2 separate regions of the Homo sapiens genome follow, and region 1 is linked to region 2. Evidence: promoter capture Hi-C in 16 types of primary human blood cells and fetal thymus (Javierre and others, 2016). All regions are on one chromosome and are shown on one strand. Each heading gives the region's core, a stretch centred on a gene start or on the middle of the fragment in contact. The rest is flanking DNA. Distances are from core to core; before and after follow the strand shown. Region 1 overlaps DANCR (differentiation antagonizing non-protein coding RNA). Region 2 holds the start of REST (RE1 silencing transcription factor).

Region 1 (6,704 bases), core at 1,646-4,145, 4.2 Mb before region 2:
ATGGGTATCATCCTTACCTTCTTTAAACCTTTTGTGCCAGTCAAAAATTCTTGCTCTTGATATGTCATCACCGGAAACTACTTTTTTTTTTTGTTTCTCTTTTGTGACAGGGTCTTCCTCTGTCACCCAGGCTGGATGGAGTATAGTGGAACAATCATAGTTCACTGCGGCCTTGGTACCCTAGGCTCAAGCGATCCTCCCACCTCAGCCTCCTGAGTAGGTGGGACCACAGGTGTGTACCACCAGACCTGGCTAATTTTGTTATTGTTGTTTTTTATAGAGGTGGGGGGGTCTCCCTATGTTGCCCAGGCCTGTCTTGAACTCACGGGCTCAAGTGATCCTCCTGCCTCAGCCTCCCAAAGTTCTGGGATTACAGGGGTGAGCCACTGGACCCAGCCAGAAACTACTTTTAACAGTTCTAATTGCCACTTGTCTTGGCTGTATATTCAGAAATAGCCAGATTGGAATTATGGTTTTTTGATTGCTATTGATAGGGAGGTTCAAATGCAATATACCAAAATAGTCTATTTCAGGTGTCTCACTGACATATTTAACTTTACACAAAATTTAATATGAATTCTTTGCTCTAACAGTCAACAATTTTTAGGTCAACAAAAGAATAACTCTATTCACATCTAAGAAAGTTAGTTGGCAACCTTAAAAGCTCTGTTGTAGCCAGCTGAAACATAACCTATTCCAGCAATTTCACAAACTACACAAAGAAAAATTGGTAAATATTTCAACAGATGAGTACAAATAATCTTTGGAGAAGCTGATAAAGATTTCAGTGCTATATCATCTTAGCCTGCTATTTTCCCACCTACAAAAGGGTCGAAAATAAATCAGCTTTTTCTTGTCCAATTAATAGGAAAATGATATATGAAATACTTTAATTATTAGTCGGCACTGTCCCACCCCGAAAGAACCTAAGACTTAAAAATACATCCTAATAACATGTATATTGCCACTTGGCTGTACACTGAAGACTCAGGTATCTACAGTATTTTGTATTCTCTTCCCGATTGCACGATTTTTTCAGTGCTTTGCTTTCAGGGAAAACAGACTCAGGCTGGTCTTTCTTATGGTATTAAGTACAGGCTACTTTAAGATAATTTTGTGGTGTTTGCTAAATTCAAGAAATCAATACAGGCCGGGCGTGGTAGCTCACACCTGTAATCCCAGCACTTTGGGAGGCCGATTCCGGCGGATCACCTGAGGTCAGGAGTTCAAGACCAGCCTGGCCAACATGGTGAAACCCCGTCTCTACAAAATATACAAAAATTAGCCGGGCGTGGTGGCTGGCGCCTGTAATCCCAGCTACTTGGGAGGCTGAGGTGGGATGATCGCTTGAACTCGGGAGGTAGAGGTTGCAGTGAGCCGAGATCGCGCCACTGCACTCCAGCCTGGGCGACAGAGCGACACCGTCTTAAAAAAAAAAAAAAGAATTCAATACATAGTGTCATGTGCCTTTACTGGGGGAATCTCCTTTACCTTTTGGGGAGGCTGATAGGGCTGCTTAAAATATTTGTATTAGGCACTGGAAGATGTAAACGGGACCTTATCCTATTTAAACTCTCTTTAAATTAGCTAGAAATGGGCTGGGAACAACAGGAACCCACCATTTAACTACGGCGGCTAATCCCCCAAGTATGGTAACATACTGTACTGCACCCCCTAAAAGTGTGTTACCAACAGGACCACAAACAAGTTTGCCCACTGTTTTTAATGCAAATGTTCCTTTCAAGATCGCAAACCCTTCAATACACAGGGCCTAATCCAGTCGCGCTTTACTACTACGGGTTACTCCCGCCAACTGGCAGGGGAGCCGCCCCGGGCCCCGCGGAAAAGGCAGGTGCGCGTGAGGGAAAGCATGAGAGCCCGGGCCGCGCCCACCTCGGCCCCAGGCACTACGGGTCCTGCGGGTCCCGCGGGTCCCGGATTCGAGGCGAAGCGGCCCAGAGCCTGCGGCTGCTCAGACCTCCTCACCGCGCCCACCTCCCAGCCACCTCCTGGCTCCAGGTCCAGAGCAGGAGCAGGACTACCGGGGTCCCTGGCACACAAGGAGCAGAAATACCTTGAGGGGCGGGACCAAGTAGCCCAGCGCTGGAGGAAGACCCGCACCCTCGCGGGAGTTCTGAGAGCCTTAGCAGGCCGCGACAACACTGGGAGACGTGTCTGCCAATCACCGGATGGGGGCGGTCCTGGGGGGGGGGTCATGCAATTGGCTAAGCACGGAGAAGCTCTCGTTCCATTGGCCATTTTTCCGGCCTCAAGCCCACCCCTAGGCCTGAATCCCCGTCGCGTTCCGCCGGTCTGCTTCTCGGCCGAAAGGCTGGGGAGGAGGAGAGGAAACGCCTGGGTTAGTTTTGGTTCCTTCTGCTGGCGCTCAGGCTGCTGGAAGAGTCCTAGACCTTCACCCGTGGTCCCTTGGGCCCGTTTCACGCCCACGTTCTGACATGTCCTGTGGTATTCTGTACCTCTGCCTTCTACCCTGTGTCCCACGCTGATCCATCCTAGGCAGGGAGAAGGCAGCGTCGCAGGGACAATGCCAAAATCAAGATATTTCTCTTAGAGCTTTCTAATATTAATACCTTATGTCTAGGTATGGTATACAATAAGCATATATATATTTTATAAATCTAAAACCACTCCCCCTCATTAAATCATCAAACTAGTCCCAATGAAGTAGGTACTGTTATTCCTTATTTTTCAAGCAAGGAAACATGAGCAGGAGGATTTAGTGATCGGCTCACGTCCTGTCATGTTTACTTCCTAAATATCAGCTGTATCCTGTCCTCATTCCTATTCCCTTGCTCTAATTCAGACCTTCATAATTGCTTGCCTGGATTAGTTCTACAAATAGCTCCCAACTCCTTTCCCGGTCATCCTCCAAAGCCAAAGATTAATCTTCCTAATGCAAATCTGATTGTGTCTCTTAAACCCTTCTCAAGCCTCTCAAATGTCAACTCCTTCTGTGGCACCTCATTGCCTGTAGGTTCTGGCAGAGACTGCTTTTTATTGAAATATAACATGACCACAGATGAGTACACAAAAATGCACATTCGGCTGAAATTTCACAAACTAATCACAGTCCTGCCACCAACAACTAATTTAAGAAACAGAACATGGCGGGGCGTGGTGGTTCATGCCTGTAATCCCAGCACTTTGGGAGGCCGAGGTGGGCAGATCGCTTGAGGTCAGGAGTTTGAGACCAGCCTGGCCTACATGGTGAAACCCTGTCTCTACTAAAAATACAAAAATTAGCTGGGTGTGGTGGCACACGTCTGTAATCCTAGCTACTCCGGAGGCTGAGGCAGGGGAATCGCTTGAACCCGGGAGGTGGAGGTTGCAGTGAGCGAGATCATGCCACTGCACTCCAGCCTGGGTGACAGAGCTATACTACATTAAAAAAAAGAAAAAAAGAAATAGAAAGAAAGAGAGAGAGAAAGGGAAGGAAGAAAGGGAGGGAAGGAAGGAAGGAAGGGAGGGAGGGAGGGAGGGACGGAGGGAGGGGAAAGAAACGAAGAGAAAGAAAGGAAAGAAAAGAAGGGAAAGAAAGGAAAGAAAGAAAGAAACAGTACACCAGAAGTATTTCCTTCCGGTAGCTAACCACTCCTTTTCACCCAAAGGTAACCGCTAGCCTGACTTCTAACAGCATAGAGCAGTATCCTTGTGTTTGTGCATTATATACATGTGATTTTTTGTGTCTGGTTTCTTTAACTCACTATGATGGTCATGAGGTTCATCCATATTTTGAGTATAGTCACAGTTTGCTCATGAGAATGCTGCAGTGCAGTCCATTTTGTGAATATACCACAATTTATGTATTCAACCAATTGTTGATAGGCATTGGAGTAGTCTACATTTTGGAACTATTAAAAATATTGCTGCTATGAACATTGTAATAAACGTCTTCTGATGAACATGATAAAAGATGATTGCATTTCTGTTCGGTGTATACCTACAAATGGAATTATTGGATCATAGGTTATATACCATGTTCAAATTTAGTAGATATTAAATATTTTAAAACAGTTTTTCAAAGTGTTTGAGCCAATTTACACTTATCAGCAACATATGAGTATTCCAGTTGTTCCACATTCTCATCAACACTTGGTATTTTCCATCTTTTTTCATTTTAGCCATTTTGGTGGGTGATAATTGTGCTTCAGGTGATTTTGATTTGCAGCTCCCTGATGATTAATGAAGTTGAGCACCTTTTCATCTCTTTATTGGCTATTAAGAAATAACTTCATGAAGTGTCTGTTAAAATCTGTGCCCATTTTTAGTGTCTTTTAAATTTGTATTTTCCTAACATTTGATTATGAAAAATTTCAAATATTTAGCAAAGTTTAAAGAGTTTTACAATAGCGTCTGTAAACTTACCACATAGATTATTCTACCATTAACATTATATAACACTCACTTTAGGATATTTCTACATTTACCTGTATCTATCTTAATGTTGTTGCATTTCAAAGTAAATTGCAAACAGCAATACATATTTGGCCATTTAAATATTAATATTTCAGCATGTATATCATTAACTAGAATTTAATACTTCAGGTTTCTTTTGATGTAAAATTTACATGAAATGAAATGCACAAATCTTTAGTGTATATATTTGCTGAGTTTTGACAAATGCATTCATTTGTATAACCCAAACTTCTATCAAGTATAGAACATACTATCACCCCGGAAAGTCCTTCATGCTCCCTACCATTTCCACTTTCCCAGGGACAACCAATGTTCTAATTTTTTTCCTCACTGTAGATTAGATTTGCCTGTTTCAGAAGACCATATAACTGGAATCATACAGTATGTTCTTCTGTATAAGGCTTCTTGCACTCAGCATGCTGTGTTTGAGATTTATTCATATTGTTGCATGTGTCAATAACTTATTCCTCCTTATTTCTGAGTACTATTCCATTGGATGAATATATCACAGCTTGTTTATCCATTGTAAGAAGATTTTTAAAAATGACTTTATTGAAGTATGATTGGCATGCTAAAAAGCTATACATATTCAATGTACACAACTTCATAAGTTTGGAGATAAGTGTACACCCTTAAAACCATCAGCACAATCTATGCCATGAACCTAATCCATCACCTCCAAAAGTTTTCTCCTGACCTCTTTATTATTATTATTGATAATAACCCTTAACATGGGGGGAGGGAAAGAGAGGGAGAAAAGTTGGAAAAACTGTTGGGTACGATGCTCAGTACCTGGCTGAAGGGATCATTTGTACCCCAAACCTCAGCATCGCGCAATATACCCAGGTAACAAGCCTGTACATGTACCCCTGAGTCTAAAATAAAATTTGAAAAAAATAAAATAAATTTAAAATAACACAATGTAAGATATATCCTCTTAGCAATTTTTTAAGTATACAGTATTATGTTTTTGTTTTTAGAATTCTAAATATTCATCCTTTGTCAAGTATATATGTCACAAATATTTTCCCCCATTTGGTTACTTTTCATTCTTTTAATGGTATCTTTTGAAGAAAACTTTAATTTTGAAATATTCAATTCATTAGTTTTAACATTTAGTGTTTTTTGGTTTTATTTAAGAAATCTCTGCCTACTCCAGGTTATAAAGTTTCCTCCTGTTTTTTTTTTTTTTTTTTTTTTTTTTTTTTTTTTTTTTTTGAGACGGAGTCTCTCTCTGTCACCAGGCTGGAGTGCAGTGGCGCAATCTCGGCTCACTACAATCTCCTCCTCCTGGGTTCAAGCAATTCCCCTGCCTCAGCCTCCCAAGTAGCTGGGACTACAGGTGCACACCACTATGCCCAGCTAATTTTTGTATGTTAGTAGAAACATGGTTTCACCATGTTGACCAGGATGGTCTCCATCTTCTGATCTTGTGATCCACCTGCCCCAGCCTCCCAAAGTGCTGGGATTACAGGCATGAACCACCACGCCTGGCCCCCCAAAAGCTTTAATGTTTTAGTTTGCTCATTTAGATCTGCAATCCATTTGGAATTGATTGTTGTGAATAGGGACATAGAGGTAGGTCCAGATGCCTGTTGTTTCTATGTGGATAGCTAATTGATCCAGCATGTTTATTCAAAAAATCCATTTTCCCACTTGCAATTGTCGTAAGTCAAGTGACCACGTATGTGTGGTCCTGTCTCCTGACTCTGTTTTGTTCTATCAGTTGGTTTTTCTACCTTTACAACAATGCCAAACTGACTTCATTACTTAGCTTTATCGTAAGCCTTAATAGTGTATCAGTGAACCGAATTTTCAATGTAATTAAATTTAAATTTAAATAGCCACCTGGCTATTGGCTACTGTATTGGACAGCACAGATATAGAACATTTCTATCCTGGCAGAAAGTTCTGCTGGATAACACTGTTCTAGAAAGCATGTAGAAGGCAATACCAGATGCTTCATTTCATAGCTGCATGCCGGGCTGCTCTTCAAAAATATATATGTAAAACCTTTTTTCAAAAACTCAGAACACAGCCTCCTATAGTTACGACACCAATTCTTTTAACCTTGCACTTTTTGCAATACAAATACTATGTCAGGTGCAGGAGAGCTTAGTGAGTTGGGAAACATTTTCTTTGATCAGACACCAAAAAATAGTAGCCCCAAATCATAGGAAAAGATTCCTGCTGAATTACCATTACTTGTAGTTCGTTACCTGCTCTCATCCAAGGTCACACTTAATTCTCTTACTGCTCCAGGAAAG
Region 2 (6,422 bases), core at 2,294-4,793:
TAGGTGCTGGGGATAAAAAAATGTCTCTGCCTTTCTGGAGCTTAAGTTCCTAAGTAGGGTAAATAAATAAAAATACCTAGCATGTTAGTAATAAATGTTAGAGACAGAAACAGCAGGGAAGGGCATTAGGATTGGACGAAAATGGGAGCAGAAACAGCAGGGAAGGGCATTAGGATTGGACGAAAATGGGAGCGGGTTCCAAATGTGATCTAGGCTCCAAAAGAAGGCAGGAAGGAGCCCAGCTCAAGTCTCAAGTTCTCTTGTTCACCTCCTTCCCTTCTCAGCATGAAGGGAAAACCTCCCTGGCTCAAGCTGTTGATGCCTATAATGAGTAAGACACTATTCCAGTTATCAGAACCAGAACAAGAGGTCAGAGTCCAACCGGCAGCAAGAGTAGATGATGCTGGCTGGACTCGGTGGCTTACACAGGTAATCCCAGCACTTTGGGAGGCCGAGGCGGGTGGATCACCTCAGGTCAGGAGTTCGAGACTAGCCTGACCAACATAGTGAAACCCCATCTCTACTAAAATACAAAAATTAGCTGGGCGTCCTAGCGGGTGCCTGTAATCTCAGCTACTCGGGAGGCTGAGGCAGGAGAATTGCTTGAACCCAGGAGGCAGAGGTTCCAGTGAGCCAAGATCTTGCCACTGCATTCTAGCCTGGGCGACAGAGCAAGACTCCCAGGCGGGGTGGCTCACACCTGTAATCCTAGCACTTTGGGAGGCCCAGGCAGGTGGATCATCTGAGGTCAAGAGTTCAAGACCAGCCTGGCCAACATGGTGAAACACCATCTCTACTAAAAATACAAAAATTAGCCAGACAAGGTGGCACGTGCCTGTAATCCTAGCTACTCGGGAGGCTGAGGCAGGAGAATCACTTGAACCCGGGAGGTGGAGGTTGCAGTGAGCCGAGATCGCACCTTTGCATTCCAGCCTGGGTGACAGAGCAAGACTCCATGTCAAAAAAAAAAATAATATATATATATATATATAATTGGCCAGGTGTGGTGGCTCACGCCTGTAATCCCAGAACTTTGGGAAGCCGAGGCAGGCGGATCACCTGAGGTTGGGAGTTCGAGACCAGCCTGACCAACATGGAGAAACCCCCGTCTCTAACTAAAAATACAAAATTAGCTTGGCGTGGTGGCACATGCCTGTAATCCCAGCTACTCGGGAGGCTGAGGCAGGAGAATTGCTTGAACCCGGGAGGCGGAGGTTGCGGTGAGCCGAGATCGTGCTATTGCACTCCAGCCTGGGCAAAAAGAGCCAAATTCTGTCTCAAAAAAAAAAAAAAAAAAAAAAAGAAAGAAATCTCTCTAGAGAAAATACTATTAAGAACATATGATAATTAAAATAAAAAAATTGATGAGTTAAATATGCAGGAAAAAAACCATATAAGAAAAGCAGAACTCATTCTCATTTCAGAGTTTTTATCTTGCAGAAGATCCTAAAGTTTGGATACAGCAAAGTAAAATACAGACTTTTGAAAAACAGTTAGGAATTCAAGTTCATAGCAACAGCTTCCCTCAAGAAAATTTTCAATTGATTTGTAATTTGGCCTATGAATTTGACCTGTGGCCTTCATGTCATGATAATTTGGGTCACTCTGAATATGCCATCCCTTGAACAAGGGCCTCTGCTAATTTTAAATGAATGCAGCTGCCCATTCGCCATTCTTCTATTTGCATCACAATATGTGGGAATAAATTTGCAATTAATAAGACATTTCCAGTAAGCAGTCAGATTGAGGAAATGAAGGACATTTAGTAAGTTTAACAAGAGACATTTCATTTTTGCCTTTTTGGACCTAAAAAAGGGAAAGAAAACAAGTTTATGTCTTTGACAACCTTGGTAGAGGCCTGAATTGTACCCTGGGCTACAGCATCTAAAAAAGCCATGTGACCTCAAACTTGATTTTAGTTAAACAAATAAAATATATATAGAAAAGTTTGTACCAGTCCTAAAAATGTCGATCTTCCTTTCCTCCCTCCCTCCCTCCCTTCCTTCCTGTCTCTTTGGTTCAATGAAAATGAATACTTTTCAGGTTTGATTCATGGAGAGGTGTTACATTTGAAATTGCCTCATTGAAACTTTTGGTGGTCGAGCACCTTAGGGTCTTCATTTCATCTTGCATCGGAGACTGCATTAATTAGTAATATATTGTCCAGATAGAGGGAAACAGAGGTCCTACGTGGGTATACCAGGAAATGAAGAGTCTGGAAGCCCTGCCCTAAGAGAAACAAATAAAGGAACTTCAAAGAGAAGGAAGTGAGGTACCCTGAGGAGAAGCTGGGATGTCTTAACAACTGCTTTGGGATTTTGAGCTTGCCCTTTTCACTGTGTAGAGTGTTCCTTGCCCTACTTTCCACCTGTTGAAGTTTTCCTCATTCTCCAAGGTCAGACTGAATACATCTACTGTGAAAAGTTTCTAGAACCTCTTGGGATCCATCTTCCTACTGGCAAACCCCCATAGCACTTGCTACTTATGTTGTAATACCAAGCAATAGTCAGACTTATCTAGGTCAAGTTAAGTAGGGGCTTGAACGCCACACTAAGGGGTTTAAGCTTTAAGCTTGTAGTCATGGGGAGCCACTATGCTTCTGAGGACAGGTGTGACTTACGACTGACGTTTAGGAAGGTATCAAAGGCAGACTGAGAAGCTCTTTCAGGTGTGAAAGGGGGTGGAATTACTCTCTCTCTGTTCTTTTTTGTTGTTTTTGTTTTTGTTAGCACATGACTATGGGCTAGGCATTCCGCTTGGTTATCCCGCTTCATAGACGTGAGCCCGGTTACTCCGACACACCGTGGCCCCAGGCAGCCTCCCCGTCCTCACCACCTTTTCTTCTGTCATCTGAGGGTAATTCCTCCCCTGCAGTCGTGCTTTCCGGGCTCAGCAATGACCTGCTACCTGCCACGTCTAGGGATCTGTCCCCTCAGTCCTCACGCTCACGCTTTCTGAGTCCATAACCTCCTTCCTGAAACGTTTTCTTCTCACTTCTCCCAAACTGACTGCATTCCCCCTCCGGTAGTTTGAAATTTGGAAGACTTTTTTTTTTTTTTTTTTTTTTTACCGCAGACGCTTAAAACGAAGCTTAATTAGTCAAGGACAGCTATGGGTGGAGACTTGAAGAGATCTGAAGGGTATCTTGGAGCGCTTTAGACTTGAGAGGCCGGTGACAATAGCTCTAAAGAGACCCGTCAAAGCCTGCGGATTCTTCTTTTAACAGCTCTATTCTCATGCATGCACGCCAGGGCTGGGGGGAACTTTTGTTGTTTGTTTGTAATAGAAATCGAGAAAGGGAGTGGGGCCCGCCTCTTTTCTGACCTAAGGGCAGGAGTGAGGGGCCGGGAGGATTACGGGCGGCTCCCCCTAGACGCGCCCCCAGGCGAGCTGGAGACTGGGGCACTCCTTGCTTGGTAGAGGGGCGGGGCGCGCCTAGCGGCCACGCGCGCGGGCGTCGGAGGGGGCGTGTCTCGCGGGCGCGCGCGGGCGTCGGAGGGGGCGTGTCCCGCGGGCGGTGGCGGCGGCGGCGGCGCGGACTGGGTGCGCGGCGCAGCGTCCTGTGTTGGAATGTGCGGCTGCCGCGAGCTCGCGGCGCAGCAGCGGAGCGAGCGCCGCCGAGGCCCGGGGCCCCAGACCCTGGCGGCGGCTGCCGCAGCCGAGACGGCAGGGCGAGGCCCGGAGGCCTGAGCACCCTCTGCAGCCCCACTCCTGGGCCTTCTTGGTCCACGACGGCCCCAGCACCCAACTTTACCACCCTCCCCCACCTCTCCCCCGAAACTCCAGCAACAAAGAAAAGTAGTCGGAGAAGGAGCGGCGACTCAGGGTCGCCCGCCCCTCCTCACCGAGGAAGGCCGGTAAGTGGGGCGCTGGGCTGGGGGCTCGGTCAGGGTGGGGGAGGGCCGCCCGGGCGGCGGCAGTGGCGGGACGGGGAGGGCGCGGAAGGACGCGGAGTCAGGCGCTGTCCAGGGCTGATTTGCAGATACTGTGGCTCCGGCGGCGGCGGCCCCGCCGGGCGGGGGCTGGCGGCCGAGCAGGATCGGGTTACACAGCAGCCGCCCGGGGGCTGGGGGCGTTTGTTGGGAGCAGCGCGTCGCCTGGACCCCCTCCCCACTGGAGGCTGGGACGCCGCCTCCGCGCTGGCCCGGACGCTCCACCGAGTCAGGTCCTTTGAGGCCAAGGAGCGGAGCTGCTCGGGCCCGTAGTCCTGAAACTTCCTCTGCTTCCTCCTCCTGCCCCCGGGTCCCACCGCAGCCCCGCGCCGGCCCGCGGCCCTCCTGGCCCCCTCCCCCAGGGCCTCTCCCTGTCGCCGGAAGGCGCCGTTGAGTGCGGCCGGGCGGGTTGAGTCAGCCCCGGGGCCCGGGCGGTTCCGCCTGCGGGGCTGGACAGCGATTTCTGCGCTTCAGCCGTCCGGCGCCGCTGGCCCCCGCGTCCGGCCACCCGACCGCTGGAGCTGGCGGGGCTGGGGCGCGCGTCCTGCCGGGCGCCGTGGGGGAGTGAAGTTCGCAAACTTCCGGGGCGCGGGGGTGGCGGCTGGCCCGTGTGGGGGCCCCCTCCGGCGCTCGGAGCCCGACGCCTCGCGAGGGCGCCCGCGGAGCCTCCCCGGCCCTGGGCGTTGGGCGAGCCCCGGGGCGGTCGGAGGGGCCCGGGGGCGGTCGGAGAAGCCCGGACGCCGGCTGCGCGGTAACTTTCCGTCCTCTCCCGGGACGGGGGCCCTAGGGCTGGGGAGGGGGCTGCCTGGACTCGGGGAGGACTGGTTCCGGCCAAACAGCGCCTCGAGCTTGATCCCCTCCCCCGTTTTAGTGTTGGAGAGCGCAGGAAAAGGCTCAGGACGAGTGTCGGGGCGACTCCCGCGAGTTGGTGTGTAAATGTGTGCAGTGAGCGGGCCGAGGCGAGAGGAAGCGAGAGCGCCCGAGTTTGCAAAGAGCTGCTTTGTGTTTGGTATTTTGAGAAAATGGCCGAATGCCTATTTCAGTTAGGAATGCCGCCGCCGAGGCAGGCGCTGGTGGCAGCAGCACGGAGGAATTCGTGCAGCACGTTGGGCTTTCGGGCTGTGCCTGGACGGTCTTCCTAACAATCGTTAAAATTCCATTTGGGGTGGCAGTTAGGGGTTAGGGAGCAATTAGAAAAGTCGATGTTGGGCCAAATTACCCAATAGCTTGGGCTGTTCAGCCCCGGGACAGCCTTCGCCCTCTGTTTTCTGTGATGGCATTTGCTTCCAACTTTTGTTGGTACGTAGAACTAAACCGGTTTGTGTTTATACACTTGGGTGAAGCGGGTTACTTTTTGTATTTTCGGTTTAACTTTATTTTCTTAGAACTTCTTACTTTTTTTAATTTGCGAGTGAACACTTCGTTTGAGAATGGCACCTTTTAGATTGAGAAGTAACGTAGCATCTAGAAAGCCCAACTTGTTTTGAAGAAGGTGATCTTGTAATGGCTTCCACTAGGCAAGTAGGCCAAGTCAAGCACAATGCAAGAAAGTTGCTGATTGTCGAGTTGAGTTGCACGATGATTTTATTCGTATTGAAAAGCTTGGAATTCAGTGTTGTGGAACTTCAGCCTGCAGAAAAATAAGCTTATTAATTTTTATTTGTGAAGTTTTGAATAAATCAAACTTCCTTTTTCACAAGAAAAGGGGTCCATAAATGTTTTTTCTTTTAAGCCTGTGGAGTTGTCGAAAAATTAAGGGGCTGACTGCTACTTTTTCACAGTAGTTTATTCTTTTGGAGTTAGTTGAGTTCATGCGAAATCCAATTAAGTTGAACAATTATTACAGGCTTGTACTTTCCAGATGTGTTTGTGTACTTAATAAATGCACTGAATGGCTTGTGGATTTCTGGGCTTTCTGATTCAGACCATTGAACTGTTGAAGGGGGGAAAAGTTGGGAGGACAATAATTTACTACTCATGTTTTGAATTTTTAAAATAATTTTAACAGTAAAAATGAAGGTTACTTTTTATCCCCACCAGAACAATTAAAAGTGCTTGAGGAGGCACCACATGCCAGTGGCTGAATGATGAATGAGTTGTGCAAACAATTGGTAGAATTGTTTTATAGGGATAGTAGAAATTTTTTTTTGGTGATTGCAGTAGACTATTGGGAATTAACAACTATTTTAAAGATTTGTTTTTAATAGGCGATGAAGTTTACTGAGTTATAAAGATCATACTGGAAAATTTTTAAGTTATGAAGAATTACAGCGATGTGGTTTTAAGCCAGTAACAGTAGTGTTTAAACTGGTGCTCTTGTTTTGTTTTGTTTTTAATTCAGAATACAGTTATGGCCACCCAGGTAATGGGGCAGTCTTCTGGAGGAGGAGGGCTGTTTACCAGCAGTGGCAACATTGGAATGGCCCTGCCTAACGACATGTATGACTTGCATGACCTTTCCAAAGCTGAACTGGCCGCACCTCAGCTTAT

Evidence for each region. The method cuts DNA at HindIII sites, captures the fragments that hold promoters and counts their contacts. A CHiCAGO score of 5 or more calls a contact.
Region 1: a fragment that was not itself captured here is called in contact with the fragment with the promoter of REST in region 2 in 1 of 17 cell types (activated CD4 T cells); the score reaches 5.1 in activated CD4 T cells.

Annotation. Positions count from the first base shown.
Region 1 is chr4:52,720,242-52,726,945 of GRCh38, forward strand. It overlaps DANCR (differentiation antagonizing non-protein coding RNA), which reads left to right. Exons shown (of 5, transcript NR_145129.1): 5 at 1-456. Among named protein-coding and RNA genes, the nearest start is that of SNORA26, 10 kb to the left of the region's middle. RefSeq lists silencers at 1,752-1,891, 2,072-2,121 and an enhancer at 2,282-2,581. The HindIII fragment of the contact is 6,089 bases long and covers 1-5,940 here.
Region 2 is chr4:56,904,357-56,910,778 of GRCh38, forward strand. It overlaps REST (RE1 silencing transcription factor), which reads left to right and starts at 3,544. Exons shown (of 4, transcript NM_005612.5): 1 at 3,544-3,857; 2 at 6,274-6,422. The coding sequence starts at 6,283. RefSeq lists enhancers at 3,001-3,930, 4,861-5,790 and silencers at 3,027-3,321, 3,421-3,810, 3,921-4,770. The HindIII fragment of the contact is 2,443 bases long and covers 3,089-5,531 here.